Linked DNA regions of Homo sapiens: region 2 is linked to region 1. The links are contacts of gene promoters, found by promoter capture Hi-C in human tissues and cell types (Jung and others, 2019). All regions are on one chromosome and are shown on one strand. Each heading gives the region's core, a stretch centred on a gene start or on the middle of the fragment in contact. The rest is flanking DNA. Distances are from core to core; before and after follow the strand shown. Region 1 holds the start of IMPA1 (inositol monophosphatase 1). Region 2 overlaps PAG1 (phosphoprotein membrane anchor with glycosphingolipid microdomains 1).

Evidence for each region. The method cuts DNA at HindIII sites, captures the fragments that hold promoters and counts their contacts. A contact is called where the count stands out against the background at its distance.
Region 2: a contact is called between a fragment that was not itself captured here and the fragment with the promoter of IMPA1 in region 1, in 1 of the 25 tissues and cell types used here (hippocampus).

Annotation. Positions count from the first base shown.
Region 1 is chr8:81,685,075-81,687,801 of GRCh38, reverse strand. IMPA1 (inositol monophosphatase 1) reads left to right here and starts at 1,477. Exons shown (of 9, transcript NM_005536.4): 1 at 1,477-1,550. RefSeq lists an enhancer at 1,231-1,731. The HindIII fragment of the contact is 9,069 bases long and covers 1-2,727 here.
Region 2 is chr8:81,005,730-81,008,486 of GRCh38, reverse strand. The region is part of intron 3 of PAG1 (phosphoprotein membrane anchor with glycosphingolipid microdomains 1); the gene reads left to right. It overlaps LOC124901967 (a long non-coding RNA gene), which reads left to right. Exons shown (of 2, transcript XR_007060979.1): 2 at 1-2,757. Among named protein-coding and RNA genes, the nearest start is that of PAG1, 100 kb to the left of the region's middle. The HindIII fragment of the contact is 5,670 bases long and covers 1-2,757 here.

The DNA of each region.
Region 1 (2,727 bases), core at 228-2,727:
TATATATATTTTTTTTTTGAGACGGAGGCTCCCTCTGTCGCCCAGGCTGGAGTGCAGTGGCGCGATCTCCACTCACTGGAAGCTCCACCTCCCAGGTTCATGCCATTCTCCTGCCTCAGCCTCCCGAGTAGCTGGGACTGCAGGTGCCAGCCACCACACCCGGCTAATTTTTTTGTGTTTTTAATAGAAACGGGGCTTCACCGTGTTAGCCAGGACGGTCTCGATCTCCTGACCTCGTGATCCGCCTGCCTTGGCCTCCCAAAGTGGTGGGATTACAGGCGTGAGCCACCTTGCCTGGCCTAGAGTAGTATTTTTATGTTTTATGGCTGGCTTTATAAAAAAGGGGTCCTGATTTCTGGGACCTGATTTGGGAAAGAGGAATTCTAGCTTCTATGACTAGTCTGGGGAAGAATGTGGGACCAGAGACAGGAGACCAAAAGGAGTCAGAGGAAAATTTTTCCTTCTAAGGCTGCTTCTGAGGCCTTCATTGTGGGGTATCATTTTCTGAACCCCAAAACTTTGAACTCAGTGTGTTTCACTCTCTGCTCTTGCTGTGTGACCTGAGGACAAATCACTTAACTACTCTGAGCCTCAGTTTCCTCATCTGTCTGACAAAGCTAATCATACCTTTTTCAAGAAACTGTTAAAACTTTAAGGAAAATAATGCATATAAAAACACATTTCGGCCAGGCGTGGTGGCTCATGCCTGTAATCTTTGGGAGGCCGAGGTAGGCGGATCACTTGAGTCCAGGAGTTTGAGACCAGCCTGAGCAACATGGTGAAACCCCGTCTCTACAAGATACAAAAATTAGCCGGGCGTTGTGGCAGGCGTCTGTAATCCCAGCTACTCAGGAGGCTGAGGCATGAGAATCGCTTGAATCCAAGAGGCGGACGTTGCAGTGAGCCGAGATCGCGCCATTGCACTTCAGCCCGGGCGACAAAAGTGAAATTCCGTCTCAAAAAAACAAAACAATAAAACCCCACACAATTGCTTGAAGCATAGTAAGTCCTCAATAAATAGTATGTAAGTAAATTATCAAGAATTGGGCAGTTGGTTCTGGTTATCAGTTTATTTTTTTTTAATCTAGTATAGGTTTACCAGCTTTAGGTTAGCACCTAAAAGCTGCATAATCGGAATCATATCTGCAATCTGGGTTTTGTCAAAATAGTACTATAGAATAAATGGGAGAAAGAAGAAAGCAAGCTAAATGGGAAACCGTGAATGAATGGAGGACGAAAGAAGAAAAAGGCAAAGTAAAGAGAGAAGTAATGTTTAAAAACTGAGAGATGAAAAGACAAGCAGGAGAAAAGAACCAGAAGCTAGAATGAAGAGGCAGTATCCCATGCTCCAGCGCGGGTCAGGACCCGGCCCGGCCTGGCAGAGGCTCGCAGGGCGCAGCTCGGGGCGGGGCCCAGCAAAGCAACCACGCCCCCTCAGGAATGGAGTTTTTAAGGGCGGAACTTCCTGTTGCGAGTAGCCCCTCTACCTCCGGAAGAGACGAGTGCGGTAACACCGTTCACAGAGCTAGCCGGACGTCCTCCGACTCAAGGTGAGACCGTTATTTTCCTCACCGCACCCTCCGGGTTCAGCGGGCGCTGTGGGTTTCCAGGGAGGCCCCTTCCCTCCTCAGGAGCGGGCGCGAGCGCCGTGCGCGGTCGGCGCCTAGGGTGGAGGCAGCCTCTGGGTGACCCCTGCCTGCTGCGTTATCCGGAGCTGCCCTGGGCGACCGGGAACAGTTCCGGCATTGGAGTAGCGGTTCGCTCACGCGACCTCACTTAACCTCTGTGGCGGCTTCTGTGGAATAATTGCCCCTTTTTATGTCCCCAACTCCGAAAAGCTCCTAGAAACTTGGTGCATCCCCAGGCCCAGGTAGTCACTCTAAGTGATGGGGCAGCGCCCAGGTCCTGTGCTGCCCGCAGTCGCGGTGCTGGGACAGGTGGCAAAAAGGAAGGTGGCCTGGCTCCTACGCTGGAAGGCTGTGACCAGGACAGAAACAGCAGGAAACAGTTCAGGTGTTTATGGCTTTGGGAAAATGAAAGTGAGTAAACTACGGACCCTGCCCATCAATAAATGTACTGTGATTTATATATATATAACTATTCATATATTATATATAACTATATATAAAAATATATATAAAATGTACTTATATACTTTATATATAGTACATAAATATACTTATGTATAGTATATATACTTATATATAGTACATAAATATACTTCTGTATACTTATATATAGTACATAAATATACTTACGTATATATACTTATATATAGTACAGAAATATACTTACGTATATATACTTATATATAGTACAGAAATATACTTAGGTATATATACTTATATATAGTACAGAAATATACTTAGGTATACATACTTATATATAGTACCTAAATATACTTAGGTATATATACTTATATATAGTACATAAATATACTTACATATATACTTACATATAGTATATAAATATACTATATGTATAGTACATAAATATACTATGTATAGTATATATACTATATATACTATATATAGTATCTATACTTATGTATAGTATATATAGTATCTAAATATACTTATGTATAGTATATATAGTATCTAAATATACTTATGTATAGTATATATAGTATCTAAATATACTTATGTATAGTATATATACTATATATAGTATCTAAATATACTTAATGTATACTATATATAGTATCTAAATATACTTATTTATAGTATA
Region 2 (2,757 bases), core at 159-2,658, 680 kb after region 1:
ACTATACTGTAGTCATACATCTTGGTGTCTTAGATGGATCCTGGCTACAGAATCAAAAACGTATGATAGATAAGTGGCTACTGCAGAACACCTTACATTGTTCTTAATTATGTTCTTCGTAAAGGGAAGCAGAGTGTTACCAGTGACTACTAGTGAGCCAGTTGCCCCTAAAGTTTGTTTATTCCTGAAACACTATAACATGGCAATTTATTAAGTATAATGAAGTAGAATTTTGAAGAGTTTGGAGAAAGGTCTAAAATATGTGATGTGAAAAAGACTGAATTATTCTTGTTTATGGGATAATAGCATATTGTTTTACAATTTGTGTCTAGAAATCACGTAACTGTTAGAAATAATTGCTTACAAAAAGAACTAGAATGAAACCACATAGCTTATATTATTTAATCCGATGGACAAAATGATACATACTAACTTCTTTTCCCAATAGCAATTACTAGATGTCAGTGGCTACCTTGATTTTCCTAGATGAGTTTTCTTTTTGTCCTAAAAACACATCTTCTTGTCCTGTTTTGTAAATATATTTTTCTTGAAGTTTTCCTGTAATAGATGCATGAGAAATAAGCACACAGTGATTCCCCCGGACCAGATTCCACTGTTATATTTCTCACAGTAAGCATTGGCAGGGCCACTGCCACGGCTATTTAGTGCAAACCTCATGCCTCTAGGAGGTGCCACTCACAGAAATATAGTCTATGCTCTTAGTACAGCCAGACCTCCTCAAAGCCTCAGTGGCAGAGAAGTGTGAACTCACATTCCTGACTCCATGTGTCATTCTTCAAGCTCCCGTGTTTTATTTTTTAAGTTCTTTTTTTTTTTTTTTTTTTTTTTTGAGACAGAGTCTTGCTCTGTCACCCAGGCTGGGATGCAGTGGCACGATCTCAGCTCACTGCAACCTCCACCTTCTGGCTTCAAACAATTCTCCTGCCCCAGCCTCCTGAATAGCTGGGATTACACGTGCCCGCCACCACACCCGTCTACTATTTTTTTTTTTTTTTTTTGTATTTTTGTATTTTTAGTAGAGACGGGGTTTCACCGTGTTGGCCAGGCTGGTCTCGAACCCCTGACCTCAGGTAATCCACACACCTCAGCCTCCCAAAGTGCTGGGATTATAGGCGTGAGCCACCATGCCTGGCCTATTTTTTAAGTTCTTAATAGAACCTTGTACTCCATGAGATCCATGTTTCTTTTATGATAAATTAACTTAAAATCAAATAACTTCCACATTTCTAGAAGATGTTGTTGGCACCTTTTTCCCGCACTTCCCACAACATGTCTCTAATATATGCCTGTCCCTACCTGCAAACCTTGCCGCTGTATCATAGGCTACTCTCTCTCTCTCTGCCTCTCTGTTGAATGCCTTTAAAATACCCTTTCCAGAAAAAGAGTGAAAACGTAGCATAGAGAAGTGAAGGGGGCAGGGCTGTCAGAGCCATACTGTGATATTTGTTCTCATTGTACAACCTGAAGACTTTCCTTGGTCTCTACTTTCCAAAGAAAATGGAAATTGGGGGTAGAGTGACCATGTTGACTGCCTTACATACAAAGGGCTTTGAACTCAGCACAGGGAAAGGCTCTCTTTAAAATGTTAGCTTAATGAATCCATATTCTAAGGCCTCTCCAAAAAAGTTCTTAATACTGTGGCATACAATGTGAGTTCCACATATGATCCTTCAACTTGAAAACCTCTGTGACACTCAAAATGTAAAACTCTTCACATTATACTCCAAGACTTTTCATAAACACAGCCTTAACCCATAACTTCCATTTTATTCATGATTTCCAAATAGAAAAAAAAAATGGAAAATCTCGAGGAAGACAGTGTGATTTTAAAGATGTTCAGAATTGCATTCTTTTTGGTGCATGAGGTCTTGTAATCCCATTGGCTCCATGGCTTTCTAAGGAGGGTCAGTTTTCTGAGTTCTCCCTGTGGACTTCTGGAGTTTCACTGCCTCTGCCCCTGGGGACCCGCTATGAGATTAGATTTTTACTTTCACACTATGAACCAGGAACACAGTGAGGCTTGTCTACAGAACCAGTGAGATGGAAAGGGACCAGGAAGAGGTGGCACTTCAGTGCCCACACAGAGAGAGAAGGGATAGAGAACAGATTCAGGATTGGGCAGTGCAGGACTCACAAGCACGAGACCTGTGTCCTTCAAAGGGTTTTCTAGTGAATTACCTACTTGGGAATCACTTAGGATGCAAGATAAAAATATAGATTCTTGGCCAGGCATGGTGGCTCATGCCTGTAATCCCAGCACTTTGGGAGGCTGAGGCAGGCAGATCACTTGAGGTCAGGAGTTTGAGACCAGCCTGGCCAACATGATGAAACCCCATCTGTACTAAAGATACAAATATTAGCCAGGCATGGTGGCACATGCCTGTAGTCCCAGGTACTTGGGAGGCTAAGGTGGGAGAATTGCTTGAACCTGGGTGGCAGAGGTTGCTGTGAGTCGAGATCGCGCCACTGCACTCCAGCCTGGGCGACAGAGCAAGACTCCGTCTCAAAAAATAATTAAAATTTAAATTTAAAAATTAAAATATAGATTCTTGGGCCCCTCTCCAACTCTATTATATCTGGGCCTCAGCCCTTTAACAAATTGCCCCATGTGTTACAAGGCAGGACTGGGAGAACGTCAGGGAGTGAGGGATTCTGGAGGGCATCTTTGCCTGGGAAGGACGGCAAGTGAAGCCTATGAGGCTGACAGATGGAGGGGCAGGTGTGCTGAACGGACCT